Linked DNA regions of Homo sapiens: regions 1 and 3 are each linked to region 2. Evidence: promoter capture Hi-C in 16 types of primary human blood cells and fetal thymus (Javierre and others, 2016). All regions are on one chromosome and are shown on one strand. The core of a region is centred on a gene start or on the middle of the fragment in contact, and the rest is flanking DNA. Distances in the headings are between cores, read along the strand shown. Region 1 overlaps ZNF45 (zinc finger protein 45). Region 2 holds the start of ZNF420 (zinc finger protein 420). Region 3 overlaps ZNF404 (zinc finger protein 404).

Region 1 (4,755 bases), core at 1,473-3,972, 6.8 Mb after region 2:
TAACATCAATTCAAGGGACTATAAAAATATGGAGCAAGTAATATTAATTAGAAAAGATGTAACTTGAACATTTTGTCTATACAATGCTTATAAATACGCAGTTATGAATACATCTGAGGAAAAGAACATGGAAAATCAAAACAGTTGTTTTGTAAGGGAAACAGTAGGAAAATGAGAGATTTTTATTGTTACTGACTTTTCTATTCTATGCTTATTTATCAAATTATAAAGTCATAAAATAAAGCAACAAAAATTAAACAACACAAAAGTAAAAAGCAGCAAGCATTTGGCACACAAGAGGTTCTCAAATGTCTACCGTTCTCCTTCATCTTCCTAACAAAGAGAATAAGGTGTATGTAATCTTTCCGAAATGAGATGACAATTATTACGGAGAAAGGGAGGTCCAACTCACCTTAGACTTCGTCATTTTGTCCTCCTCCTTCTGGAGAAGTGCCAAGTCTTAAGAGGGAAGGAGAAAACATGAGGGAAGGAGAAAAAAGCCATGAGAGTTTGGCCAAAAAAAAAACCATAGCTGTTTTTTTGTTTTGTTTTGTTTTTTTTAACGTGAAATAGCAACAGTGTTCCTTCCTCGGGCTGGCTTGATGAACAGAAACTAGGCTGGATTCCAGATACTACTTGTCCCTTTGGCTGTAAGACCCTGGCAGCAAGTGACCTGCCCGACCACACAGAGTATGCCCCCAACATAATTTCTCCTTGTGGCTCTCAGGGTATGACTGATTCTAGGGAGAGTAGAAATTGAGAGTAAAATACCCAGATTAAGAGTATTTGGCCCCTCTGGAGCCAAATGCCTAGATTTATGGCATTGCTATTTATTCGCTATGAAATCCAGGACAAATTATTAATATCTCTGTGCCTCAGTTCTTTCATCCATAAAATGAAGAGATTAACAATGAGAGAATTAACAATCTCATAGGATTGTTTACAAATTAAATGAGGGAAAAAGCTCAAAGAATATTTTCAGAGTACCTTATTTCTTAGCTGCAGAAAAGCACATAACATAAAACCTGTGCTCATTAATGGTTTCTACCAATAAATTCTTTGTTTTTTTTTTTTTTTTTTTTTTTGAGAGAGGGTCTTGCTCTGCTGCCCAGGCTGGAGTGCAGTGGCACAATCATGACTCACTAAAGCCTTGACCTCCTGGGCTCAAGCGATCCTCCCACCTCAGCCTCCCAAGTAGCTGGGACCACAGGTGTGCACCACAATGTCCAGCTAATTTTTTTACTTTTTGTAGAGACGAGGTCATGCTATGTTGCCCGAGCCAGTCTCAAACTCCTGAGCTCAAGTGATCCTCCTGCCTCAGCCTCCCAAAGTGCTGGGATTACAGGTGTGAGCCACCACACTCAGCTGATGAATTCTTTAGTAGAGGTTTTTTAACCTCTACTTTAACCTCGCCTTTAACCTCTGAAATACCTGTTATTCTCTCTTGGTTTCCCATACTTAATTTGAGGCTTTTGCAATAGTATTTAAGATTACAGTGGTCCTTCCTATCCATAGTTTTGCTTTCTGTGGTTTCAGTTACCTGAAGTCAACTATGGCCCAAAAATAGGTGAGTACAGTGCAGTAAGATATTCTGAGAGAGAGAGAGAGACCATGTTTATAGAACTTTTGTTACAGTATTTTATCATTATTCTATTTTATTATAAGTTATTGTTGTTAGTCTCTTACTGTGCCTAATTTATAAATTAAGCTTTATCATAAGTATGTAGGTAAAGGAAAAACATAGTATATTTAGGGTTCAGTAATATCTGAGGTTTAAGTCATTCACTGGGGGACTTGGAAGGTATCTGCTGTGGATAAGGGGGGACTACTGTACATAGATGACTGCTTTTTTTGATAGTAAAATATGTAACATAAAATTTACCATTTTAACCATTTTTTAAGTGGTTACATTCAGTAAGTACATTTACATTGTTGTGCAGCCATCACCACTATCCATCATCAGAATTTTTTATGTACCCATTAAGTAATAATTCCCCATTCCCCCTCCCAGCCCCTGATAACCACGTTATCTCTATGAATTTGACTATATGGACTGGTTTCTAAAAGGTATAAGACCTTGCAAAATTTGGCTGTGTAGAGTGGCTCATGCCTGTAATCCTAGCACTCTGGGAGGCCAAAGTGGGAGGACTGCTTGAGGCCAAGAGTTCAAGACCAACCTGGCCAACAGAGTGATCTCTAAAGAGAAAAAAAAAAAATCTAAAAAAAAAAAAAAAGACCTTGCAAAATTTACTTTAACAGTAGGGCCTTAAAAAGACTATCATAGAGACAGAGAAAATTTAATAAAAAATCATGACTCTGCAAGATTTATGCAACTATAAATTAGATAATGTCACTGAAATTAACAAGCTATAGGAAGCACAATAATAACAACAAAAATGGTGATATTTAACTAAATACATATTAGGGACCTTATGAAGAACTTGGCACATGATGTTTCATTAAGGTACTTCACACATACCTGTGAAGAAGCTACTGTTGTATCAGTTGTGTGACCTTGGTCCAAACACCTAAACTTCTGTGCCTATGCTCAGCTATAAGAAGGGAAATGAAAACAGGATGTTAATCATAGGATTACTGTGAGGAATCAATGAGTGAATTTATGCAATGCCCTTGGCATAGTACCTGGCATTTTAGGGAGTTCTCAACAGATGATAATGACGACAATTGTATCCATTTAACAGGCGAGGAAGCTGAGGCTTGGTGAGGTCAAGAGGCAGGAACAGTACCTGAATCCAGCTTTCATACCAGAGCCAGTATTCTAAATCTTGTCTCTCTGTTGCTTCTAAAGACAAAAATAAGCAGATGGGAGTCTAAGATCTCATGGAAGGAGAAATGAGGGCTCCAGAGTTAGGGGTAAAAGACAGACACAGAAATGGAGATTGGACTCTGAAGCCAAGGGAGCTGCTTGAGGGAGTAGAGAACAGAGTTGTGAACAGTCTAGACTCCAGAACCAGCCCACCAGTACTGGAATACAGGCATGTCCAACTTGCTAGTACTTTGTGCTCTAATGTCTAATCTATAAACTGGATGTAATAATAATACCTACTTCATAGGAAGGTCAGTGAAAGTGACTAAGTATACACAAAACATGTGGAACAGTTTCTGGCAGCTTAAACAATCAATAGAAGTTACACATAAACCCATGCAGATGCTTTACATGAAACAGTCAGGGAGCCCCTCCCTTGCTGCTGTGGACCAATGTCTGTGTCCCCTCAAAATTCTTATGTTGAAGCCCTAATGTGATGTTATTGGGAGGTGGGGCCTTTAGGAGGTAATTAGGTCATGAGGGTGAAGCCTCCATAATGGGATTGCTTTCCTTGTAAGAAAAGCAAGTAACCTAGCTCTTTCTCTCTTCCTCCCAGGAAGATACAAGACAACAGCTTCTGCGAACCAGTAAGAGTGGCCTCATTAGACATTGGATTTGCCAGTGACTTGATCATGGACTTCCCAGTCTCCAGGACTGTGAGTTATAAAGGTTTGTTGTTTAAGCCACCCAGCCTATGGTATTGTTTGTTATAGCAGCACAAATGGACTAAGGCACTCACGGAGTCTGCAGCTTCACATGGCTTGATGATGGGGAAACATGGGCTGGATTCCAGATTCCACTTGACCCTTCAGCAGAGAGCCTCTGCACAGTGAAAAATGGAGTTCTTGTAGCTCTCAGGGTATGATTCTGATTCTATGGAGGGTGGAAACGAGTAAAATACCCAGATTAAAAGCTTAGTATTAGTTAATTACTGCTTGATTTATTAGTAAATTATTCTTAGTTCTCTTACTTCAGATAGAAGAACCCTTACTATTGAAAAGGGAAACATAAAACCTTCCAATCTTAGAAGAAATACTTATTTATTTATTTTTCTGAAATGGAGTCTTGCGCTGTGGCCCAGGCTGGAGTGCAGTGGAATGATCTCAGCTTACTGCAACCTCAGCCTTCCGGGTTCAAAAGATTATCCTGCCTCAGCCTCCCCAGTAGCTGGATTATGGGCACCCGCCACCATTCCTGGCTAATTTTTTTTGTTTCTTTTGTTTTTTTAGTACAGATGAGGTTTCACTATTTTGGCCAGGCTGGTCTCGACCTCCTGACCTCAAGTGATCCACCCGCCTTGGCCTCCCAAAGTGCTGGGATTATAGGCGTAAGCCACCACACCCAGCCTGAAATACTCTTTTAGAATTTGTAATTCACTTTGTTCTAACTCTATATTTGCCCAGCAACCTCTGCTCAGTAAGAATGTTTTGCAGGGGATATATTTCCATCGCCTCGGGAAAAAAAAGAGATAATAGCAAATCAACCATCTGTCTTGTGATGAATGTTTATTCAGCTTTATATCCCAAGTACCTAAAACAGTTCCTGTACAAAGTAATTGCCCAGCAGAAATGACTGAACCCACCATCAGACATGGAGAGGCATATAGGAAGACTAGACTAGTTGGTCTAAGTCTCCCTGAGACTGACTCCAGTTGGGAAGATTTGGAGAGCAAGGGTTTTATTTCCAAATTTTTCCTCTAGGTCTTTCACCATATTTGCTGTCCTTGGGCAAGATCAGAGTCATCTTTGGAAGGAAAAGCATCTCTGGATTTTGTTAAATACCATCTTAGGAAAGTACTCTCTGCTCTTCAAAGTCAGCGACGACATGAGTCACTGTTACAGAACCCACAGAATGTGTCCCTTAAAATACTGAGAATGAACACTATTTTACTGCCTGCATAATTAGCACTAGACAGGTGAATTTATTAC
Region 2 (5,021 bases), core at 457-2,956:
TATTCCATGATGTATATGTGCCACATTTTCTTAATCCAGTCTATCATTGATGGACATTTGGGTTGGTTCCAAGTCTTTGCTATCGTGAATAGTGCCGCAATAAACATACGTGTGCATGTGAATTGGACATAATTCTTGCCTGACTTTGACCCACTCTAACTCAGTGCAATTTAATTATCTATATTTCACATAGCTATGCCTGATCACACACACAGGTTCATTCCCTCAAGAATTCTGATCACCAAATTTGCTATTCCAGTCACATTACCGGTAAGAGATCAATGTATTTGATATATGGTCTTGCAAGACCAAGTTTTATTAATTTTTTTCCCTCTGAAGGAGTGGTGAAATTATACTCTATCTTCTCTGTGCTGGAAGTTCACAAGTTTTTGATTATTCAAAAATCATAAAAGGCCAAGAGGTCTTGAAGTAAGTAAAAATAAGTTCAGGTTTACCAACAAACTCTACAGCCTTAAGTTACTTTCTGCCGGCCAAGGTTTTCTCATCAGAAAATGAGGACAAGTGTTTGACCTAGAATTTGGGAAATCTGACTAGTGCTGTACTGTGCTAAAATTCACTCTTCTTATGTATAACGTTGTTTTATTATTTTATTAGTTGATGGCCTCTCAACCGTACCCAGTAATAAGAGAAACTTTACCCTCTAATTAGAAAATAATGGATATCTACTTTTGGCCTGCTGTGGCAGAGGAAAAGGCAGTTACCCTAGGACTGGTTTTGAAATAATCTTTCTAAAAACAAAGAAAAAACTACGTTAATTTTGGATTCTTCCCGATAACACATATATTTGATCCAATAGAAAAATGATGTCTAAATTACTTGTCAGATAAATTGATTATCTTTTCCAGATTATTACATTACTATTTAAGGAAGAAATAACTTGGCCATAGTATTTTCACTGTCACACACGATCACACACAGCTCATTTGCTCTTGGCACCCTTACAGACACTGAAATACAAGCACAAAGAAAGCACGTTTATATAACACAGATCACCAGTTACTCAATTACGGCCACACACAAAAAAGCAGATATACATACAGATACCCTTCATAAGCAAACCACAATAGAGATCTGTGTAAAATCGTCTTACTCTGTTAGACGATTCTACACAGTTATAAAATCCCATTACTACGCAGCTTAAAGTACAAATCACCTCACACCCCACAGCAGGAAGAATCACACACAGGCAGAAACACAACCATACACACCCGGCCACGGAAAGACTCTCAGTCCACCTGGCATCTCCCATTGTCACACACACCCCAAGGGCCTGGGAGGGCACACACAGGGTCCTCTGCAAATCCGAGGTTCCGGCGGGTCCCCGCACCGGCCCCAGCTCCTCCCCCGCACCTGCCTGGCCGGCGGGTCCCACCCTCTCTCCTGCCAGGGGTAGACCCTGGGACCACTCAGCTCGCTCTCGCAGGCCCTGAGCGTCTGACGCCTGCGCACTGAGCGCGGGCGGGCGGGCACTCCCAGAAACCTCCGGGGCGCTGCAGGCGGGACAAGCAGGTTCCACAGGCCGAGCCCACGAGCCCCTCGAGGGGTGAGCGGCCCGGGCCTCCTGGCGTTCTGGCCGGCTAGCCAAGCGCTGGACTACATTTCCCAGAGGCACGGCGTCCGGAGCGCTGGACTACATTTCCCAGAGGCACCGCTCCCGGAGCGTAGCTTCATTTCCGTTAGTTTGCGAGATTTGGAGGCCTCGCGTGGGGAGAGGGCCGCGTCTGTGGAGGAGCTTGGCTCCGCACCTGCTGGGCTGGCGAACCCGAAATTGGGCTTGGAACCCGGGAGCCAGATCTTGGACCCTGAACTGCACCTCTGTCAAGGTAGGAGTGTCCGGGATGCCGGAGCGGACACGCGCGGAGAAAGCGTCGCTGGGGTTACTCGTGTGGCCGTGTCTCCGGTTTTGTGTGCAGGCTACAGCCTGCCTGGTATTGGCGACTGCCTGTGCATACACGACTGGACGTGTGTGGCTGTGGTTTTGTGTATGAGCATTTGTATGAGTGTGAGTTGTGACTCTGAGGGTGTTTGTGACTGTTTGCTTACCTGGCTGGGATATACTTATGTGACTGTGATTTTATGTGTGCCGCGTGTATAATTGGGGTTTGCCTGTGACTATGAAGTGTGTGACAGTTGTGACAAGAGTGTTTGGATGTTCTTGTGTCACTTTGAGGTTGTGTGTAAACCTGATATCGTGGGATGGATTTGCCAGTAAATTTAAGGTGTGTGACAGTGTTGCTGTGACACGGTGTTTATTACCGCGTGTTTCCCTGATTTCGTACTGGGTTGGGTGACTGTCTGATTGTGTGTGACTGTGGGGTTGTGTGTGCTGTTTTCATGACTGTGTAAAGAGACTAAAATTGCAGCTTTGAAAGGGTGTTTTTGGCGGTATGTGTCTCTGACAAGGTGCTTGGATGTAATTATATGCCTTGTACTTAATGGGATTTTGTTTGAGACAAGGTGGTCTAACAATGTAGCATAATTGGGTGATTGTGCCTCTAGCTGTGTAACTGTGGAAATGTGATTATGTGTGACTTTATGTGGCCATTTGTATATTCTGTGACCTTATGGGGGTTTAGTCCAGTACAGAAGTAAATTTCTTTTTGGTATTTCTGGGGTTCATTTGGGGCTGAGGTCTGCCTATGGATTGTGAGTCCCATGTGGCTCTGTGCTCCTCCCATGTGGCTCTGAGGACTTAAGGACTTTTTGATTTGACCACAGTGGCTGCCCTTTCATCCATGGCCTGTATTGCTTCATTTCTGTATCCATCCTCGGTTCACCTTGGGAAATGTAGTTACTTACGAGTTCACGACTTCTTCCCTGCGTCCTCTTGCCTTATAGCCTTAAGGGGATTGGGTGCAGGGAAGTGGCAAGAAGTAAGGAAGTCAGACATTTGGACACCTGAGTGATGAATAGGAGTTATTTGCAAGTTACAGACCTGGTCTTAGGATGAGAATTTTAGGGCTGATAATACCTTCAAGACAGCCACTGGATGCTGTGCGCGGTGGCTCACATCTGTAATCCCAGCGCTTTGGGAGGCAGAGGCGGGTGGATTACCTGAGGTCATGGTTTCACCATGACCTCTACTAAAAATACAAAATTAGCTGGGCGTGGTGGCGCATGCCTGTAATCCCAGCTACTTAGGAGGCTGAGGCAGGAGAATTGCTTGAACCCGGGAGGCGGAGGTTGCAGTGAGCCAAGATCAAGCCACTGCACTCCAGCCTGGGCAACAAGAGTGAAACTCATTCTCTAAATAAATAAATAAATAGGCCACTGGAAATATAATGGGACTCCAGGAGTGGGAATAGTTTCAGAGGGAGTGCTTTAGGAGACAGCCACCCAGTTCTGAACCTGAAGCACCCCACTGCAGGACTGTCTCCAGTGTACAGCTTTGAATACAGAAATAAATTCAAGCCCAAGACAGCTGTGACCTGGCCCTTCTTTCTGATACAGAAGGTAGAAGACTTATTCTAGTCTCCTCCTGACTTTTCTTTATGTTAAATGAGATTAAGAGGATGGAGGAAGAGGGTATGTTATAATTTAGCATATTCCCCAAGAAAGGCCTAATATCTCATTCCATTTTTCTTTTTCTGAGAGTAGAGCCCAGAGGAGAAAGAATGGCTGTTTCAGTAGCAATGTCCAAGGTGAGTATTTCCTCTTTGTTTCCTGAAATACCTTTGTTATTACAGGACATAGACATTTTTGTTTTCTTTTTGAAATTTCTTGCCTTCTCAAATGATAGAGGGGCAAGGCAATTTTTGGTAGATTGAGAGCAAAGAAAATGTGCCATTAATCGGGATAGATGCTTCCCCAATAGTGGTTAAATTTACGAAGAATGGATTTGAGACTCATGGATTTAAAAAGGGGAAGAGAGAAATAGCTCTATTGTGTTATTTAAAAAGGGAAAGAGCTCTATTGTGTTATTTCTGATACAGCACCATTTTGATTTTTTAACTTTTTTTAGCTTGTTATGGAAAGTTTCAAATGTACACAAAAGTATAATGAATATGCCTAGCTTAAAAACGATCACGGCCAGGTGTGGTGGCTCATGCCTATAATCCCAGCACTTTGGGAGGCCGAGGCGGATGGAACGAGGTTAGGAGATCGAAACCATCCTGGAAAAAGGTGAAACCCCGTCTGTACTAAAAATTAAAAAAAAAAAATTAGTTGGGCGTGGTGGTGGATGCACATAGTCCCAGCTACTCGGGAGACTGAGGCAGGAGAATGGCGTGAACCTGGGAGGCAGAGCTTGCAGTGAGCCGAGATTGCGCCACTGCACTCCAGCCTGGGCAACAGAGCGAGACTCTGTCTCAAAAAAAAAAAAAAAAAAGCGATTACTTTCCAATCTTGTTTCATTTATTCTACCTTCAGTTCAAAATCCTTTCTAATTTGCCCCTTTGATTTCTTGACTTATAGGTTATTTTGATGTGTCATGTTTTCAAATATTTTGAGGATCTTCCAGAGATCTTTTGTTACTGATTTCTAATTTCATTACATTGTGTTCACAGAATATACTTCATATGATTTTAATCCTTTTAAATTTATTAAGATTTGTTTTATGACCCAGAATTTGATGCATCTTAGTAAATGTTCCATGTGCACTTGAAAAGACTATATTCTGTGGTTGTTGGGTGGAGTGTTCTATAAATGTCAACTAGGTCAGGTAGGTTGATAGTATTTTTTAAATCTTCCATATCTTTACTGAGTTTTTATTTGTTGGATTTTTCTCCTTGTAGTTTCTTTCAGTTTCTGCTTCATGTATTTTTTTTTTTTTTGAGGCAGAGTCTTGCTTTGTCACCCAGGCTGGAGTGCAGTGGCCCAATCTTGGCTCACTGCAACCTCCACCTCCCAGGTTCAAGCAACCTCCACCTCCCAGGTTCAAGTGATTCTCCTACCTTAGCCTCCCGAGTAGCTGGGAATACAGGCGGGCACGACCATGCCCAGCTAATTTTTGTATTTTTTTTTTTTTTTTTTTTTTTTTAGCAGAGATGGGGTTTCACCAT
Region 3 (4,805 bases), core at 2,071-4,570, 6.8 Mb after region 2:
TCGGGGTTTTGCCATGTTGGCCGGGCCAAGAACTCCTGGCCTCAAGTGATCCGCCTGCCTCAGCCTTCCAAATGCTGAGATTACAGGTGTGAGCCATTGTGCCCTGCCTTGATGTATTTATTTGAATACTTCAAAAAGAAGAAGAGTTACAGTGATACTAAGGAAATAATTATTAGTAATTAAATGGAAATACTTAGTACTTTATAATTAAATTATTATTCTAGGTTGAAAAGTAAGTATGGACAAAATTTAAAATTTAAAATAAATGAAGGCATATTACACAGAATTGAGTGGAGACCAGTACTATGGTCAGAATTGTAAAAAATGAGCCTGGAAGATAATATACTATGAATTTCATGATGAATGTCAATTGCAATTTGCTGTGAGAGAGCAAAAAAAAAAAGCTGTTTATTACATAACAAATTAAATTGTTAAAGAGAAAAATATTGTGAAACATTTTCAGCAAATACATAGTAAATTTGATGAGACGTTTTCTCTTGAGAAGCAAAATGGAATAGATGAAGTTAGTTGCCTGAAATTAGAATTAAATGTCCAACCAAAATATTTAAACAATTTTTAAACAGAATCTGAGTTTATAACCTTTTTGAGCTATAAAATGGCTCTGATTCTTGCACAAAAAAGAAATGTTGGATATAGAGATAAGATAAATTATTAGTTTGGTTGCAAAAATCTTGTTAGCATATTCTGAGAAAGACTAAAATGATCTTATAAAAAGTAAAAAAAAATTAAGTCACCTAAAAACTGCTCATAGAATACAAGATATTTCTAACAATATCATGGATCAATTAATTCAAAGTTAGCAAAAGCTTCAAGTACTCTTCTTTAGCCATATATGAGTTGTGCAATATAAGATAATTTAGCCCAATTGATACTGTGGGTACATTTTGTCTCAAAAGATCCCCAAATAAAAAAAGCTGTCAATTCGCAGCCTACAAAACCAGAGTCATGACATAGATATTTTTGTCTTTTATATCTGTCAAAGAAAAATTTCTGTTAGGTATCAAAAAATATTTCTATCACAATAGATGATACACCAGCTGTATTAGGTTAAAAATCTGAATTCCTTGGAATTTTAATGCAAGAGACTGATGTCTCCCTAACTGCTTTGCTCTACTGTATAAAGAATATACCTATGAAGTATATACATGTAAATATTATGAATCACGACTACTTCATGGAACTGTTAAAAGAAATAGAGGTCAGGCTTGGTGGCTGACGCCTGTAATCCCAGCATTTTGGGAGGCTGAGGGGGGCGATCATGAGGTCAGCAGATCAAGCCCATCCTGGCTAACACGGTGAAACCCCGTCTCTACTAAAACTACAAAAAATTAGCCAGGTGTGGTGGTGGGCACCTGTAGTCCCAGCTACTCGGGAGGCTGAGGAGAATGGCATGAACCTGGGAGGCGGAGCTTGCAGTGAGCCGAGATCGCGCCACTGCACTCCAGCCTAGGTGATAGAGTGAGACTCCGTCTCAAAAAAACATAACAAAACAAAACAAAAAAGAAATAGAGAACAATTAATCTTATGTTCTTTCCCAATGCTCATCTGTTTAATGGTGTAAGACATTTACAAAGATTTCTCGTACTTTGAACTCCAGTTCAAGATTTTCTTTAAAGAAAGTTTTCCAAATATTTAATAATAAAGGAAAAAGAAGACAGTGATTTTTTTTCTCACCAGTATCACATTGCATATGAATAAGCAAAATCTGAAACTCCAAGGAAAGGAAAGCTTTTTTTTCGTGACCTAGTGAAAATAATAGGAACATTCATTGAAATGAAAACTTTTCACTGTATAAGTTCATAATAATGATTTTATATATTTTTCTAGCATGAATCAATATATAGAGGATTTTAACAGGACTGAAAAGCCTTGTGAAAAGATGCATGCAATGAAGAAATAGGCAATCTTAGTAAAGAAATAGGAACTATAAAAGTACTAAAGGAAAATTCTAGAACTGAAAAATGTAATATCTGAAATTAAACAATTTGATAGATAGGCTTAGCAGCAGAACTGAAATGACAGAGAAAAAGAATAAGTGAATTTGAAAACAGAGTAACAGAAGTTGTCCAAGCTGAAGAACAGAAAAAAAATACTGAAGATAAATAACAAAGACAGTGACCTGTGGGACAGTACCAAAAGATTTAACGTATGAGTAGAGTAAATGCAGAAAAAATATTTGAAGATATAATGGCCAAGAATTTCTGGAATTTGGTGAAAGGCACATGTGTGCAAATTTCAGAGGCTCAGAGTACCCCAAGCAGAATTAACACAAAGAAAACCATACCTAGGCACCTCATACTCAAACAGCTGAAAACCAAAAGTAATAAGAAAATCTGGAAAGCACCCAGAGAAAAAGGACACATTACATAAGAGAAAAAACAATTCAAATGACTTCTTCTTGTAAACTATGGAGACTTGAAGACCAGAAGTCGGTGATTTATATATACATATATGAAACAATATATATCTCTTTATGAGTATATATATGTGTGTGTATTCTTTGTGTGTGTGCATATACACACACATATATTCATATATCTCCAAAAAACTGCCAACCCAGAATTCTATAGCCAGAAGAAATCCTTAAAAAATAAAGGCATTTCAGTAAAAGAAACTATGAAAATTCATCACCAGCAGACGTTCACTCCAAGAAATGCTAAGTTAAGTTCCTCAAACTGTAGGGAAATGATACCAGAGAAAAATTCAGATCTCTGGAAAGAAATAAACAGCATGGGAAATAGTAAATATATGGGTAAATATAAAAGATGAGGATTTTCATCTTAATTTCTTTAAGCAACTGGGTGTAGCACTGTGTGCCTATAGTCCCAGCTACTCCAGAGGTTGAGGCAGGAGGATTGCCTGAGCTCAGGAGTTCAAGGCTGTAGTGTGCTATATAACATCTGTGAATAGCCACTGAATTCCAGCCTGGGCAACATAGCAATACCCCATCTCTAAAAATAGAATACAGAAGACTGTTCAAATTTCCAACATGACTTTCCATGGATTACTTATTTAATTGCAAAGAAAAAATTCACCCATAACAATGGAAGGAGCTGGTGGTCAATACATGAATCAAGGGATAAAACATAGTTTCACTTGTAGGCCACCTGATACTTTACAATATTAAGTACATGATACTATCTATGAAGTAGTCTTTTGAAAATGTTTAATCTGAAACCCAATCAAGCCTCTAATCATAACCTCCAGGTCACAGTAAATATAGAGGACAAAGAAACAAGTTAATCACACCTCCAGAAACAATAAGACAAACACAGCATGTGCAACACTATTTAGGTCAAATCTAAAGTCTTCAAAAAGTCTATGTCACAAAATGATGAAGGGTAGGCTCTTGACTAAAAGAGACTTAATAAGCCATAATCATATAAAATATATGAGATTAGTTTGGTTCTTGGCTTGTGAAAAAGACAGTGCTAAAAGACATTATTTTAAAAATTGGAGAAATTTGCAAATGGAGTGAATATTTTAAGACATTATAGGGTTACTGTTAATTTTTTTGTGACAATGGTGTAGTAGACATCTAGAAGATTATCTTTGATCCTAGCAGTTGTATGTTGCCTTTTTTTTAGAGGTGAATGATACCTAAAACATTCACTCAAAAAACAGGAAAAGTGATATATGTAATATATACATATATTCATGTGTAATAAGTATGATATATATATATATGCATCTGTGTATATACATAGACATAAGACATGCATGGTATATATGTATTTGTGTGTATATATGTGTTAGTATACACATAAAAAAGAGAGACATCAGATGTACTGAAACTAGGTGAAGGGCAAACAAGCCTTCACTGCACCACTGTAAACAGCTACCTTTTCTGTAAGGATGTAAATCTTAACATTTTCATAAACTTAGGGAAAACTTTTCCAAGTTAATATCTGTCTTTTGGCTACCTAACTGTTCATTTCTAATTTATTTTAATTGTAGAGGATGCAAAATATGTGTTATCTGTATTATAGGATTTGTGAAAAAATTTCTTTAAACCACTCTCTAATTTTCAACAGCTATCCTTTCATTATTCAATAAATACACATTATTTATTCCAGCATTAATCTTCAGGGGTATGAATTCTGAATTTAAAAATTTCTCATTTAATATATTCTACAGGATTTTGTCCAGAATAAATTATATGAAGTGATGATAGAGCATTTTCAAAATATCACACTCATAGGGTCTTCCTTCTATAAGATTTATTTTTAGTAATTCTAACAATTATCATAAAAATAATGTATTTAGTAAGCAAATACGATGTGCCAGATGCCTTTCCAAGTATTTATATTCTATATTAACTAGTTTAATCTTCACTATAGCATCATAATAGTGACAACAGTAAAAATGTGCCATGGCTAAAGGCTTTCCCTCTCATTACATTAAGAGTCTCTCACCATGGTGAAATCTTTGATGTTGACTAAGTTGATAGCAATGACTAAAGGCCTTACCACATTCTTTGCATTTCTGTGGTTTCACACCAGTATGAATTGTCTCATGTTGAGTAAGTCGATCACTGCGATTAAAGGCCTTATCACATTCTTTACATTCATAGGGTTTTTCACCAGTATGAATTCTCTTATGTTGAGAAAGACCTGAGATAGAACGAAAGGCCTTCTTACATTCTTTACATACATAGGGTTTCAAACCAGTATGAATTGTCTGATGATAAATTAGTTGAGAATTAAGTCTAAAGGTTTTTCCACATTCCTTACATTCATAGGGTTTCTCCCCAGCATGAATTGATTGATGTGTCTTAAGGTCTC

Evidence for each region. The method cuts DNA at HindIII sites, captures the fragments that hold promoters and counts their contacts. A CHiCAGO score of 5 or more calls a contact.
Region 1: a contact is called between a fragment that was not itself captured here and the fragment with the promoter of ZNF420 in region 2, in 1 of 17 cell types (total CD4 T cells). The highest score is 8.3, in total CD4 T cells.
Region 3: a contact is called between a fragment that was not itself captured here and the fragment with the promoter of ZNF420 in region 2, in 1 of 17 cell types (naive B cells). The highest score is 6.9, in naive B cells.

What each region holds. Positions count from the first base shown.
Region 1 is chr19:43,921,759-43,926,513 of GRCh38, forward strand. ZNF45 (zinc finger protein 45) reads right to left here. Exons shown (of 10, transcript NM_003425.4): 4 at 3,567-3,700; 5 at 2,644-2,803; 6 at 2,480-2,552; 7 at 413-459. The coding sequence starts at 427. ZNF45-AS1 (ZNF45 antisense RNA 1) reads left to right here. Exons shown (of 3, transcript NR_184050.1): 2 at 3,384-3,496; 3 at 4,528-4,755. Among named protein-coding and RNA genes, the nearest start is that of ZNF45, 11 kb to the right of the region's middle. The HindIII fragment of the contact is 2,032 bases long and covers 1,707-3,738 here.
Region 2 is chr19:37,076,727-37,081,747 of GRCh38, forward strand. ZNF420 (zinc finger protein 420) reads left to right here and starts at 1,707. Exons shown (of 5, transcript NM_144689.5): 1 at 1,707-1,844; 2 at 3,619-3,662. It overlaps LOC105372390 (a long non-coding RNA gene), which reads right to left and starts at 1,471. Exons shown (of 2, transcript XR_001754095.2): 1 at 1,372-1,471. RefSeq lists a silencer at 1,163-1,452 and an enhancer at 1,543-1,782. The HindIII fragment of the contact is 14,557 bases long and covers 1-5,021 here.
Region 3 is chr19:43,868,139-43,872,943 of GRCh38, forward strand. It overlaps ZNF404 (zinc finger protein 404), which reads right to left. Exons shown (of 3, transcript NM_001033719.3): 3 at 4,227-4,805. The coding sequence ends at 4,417. Among named protein-coding and RNA genes, the nearest start is that of ZNF404, 13 kb to the right of the region's middle. The HindIII fragment of the contact is 3,147 bases long and covers 1,748-4,805 here.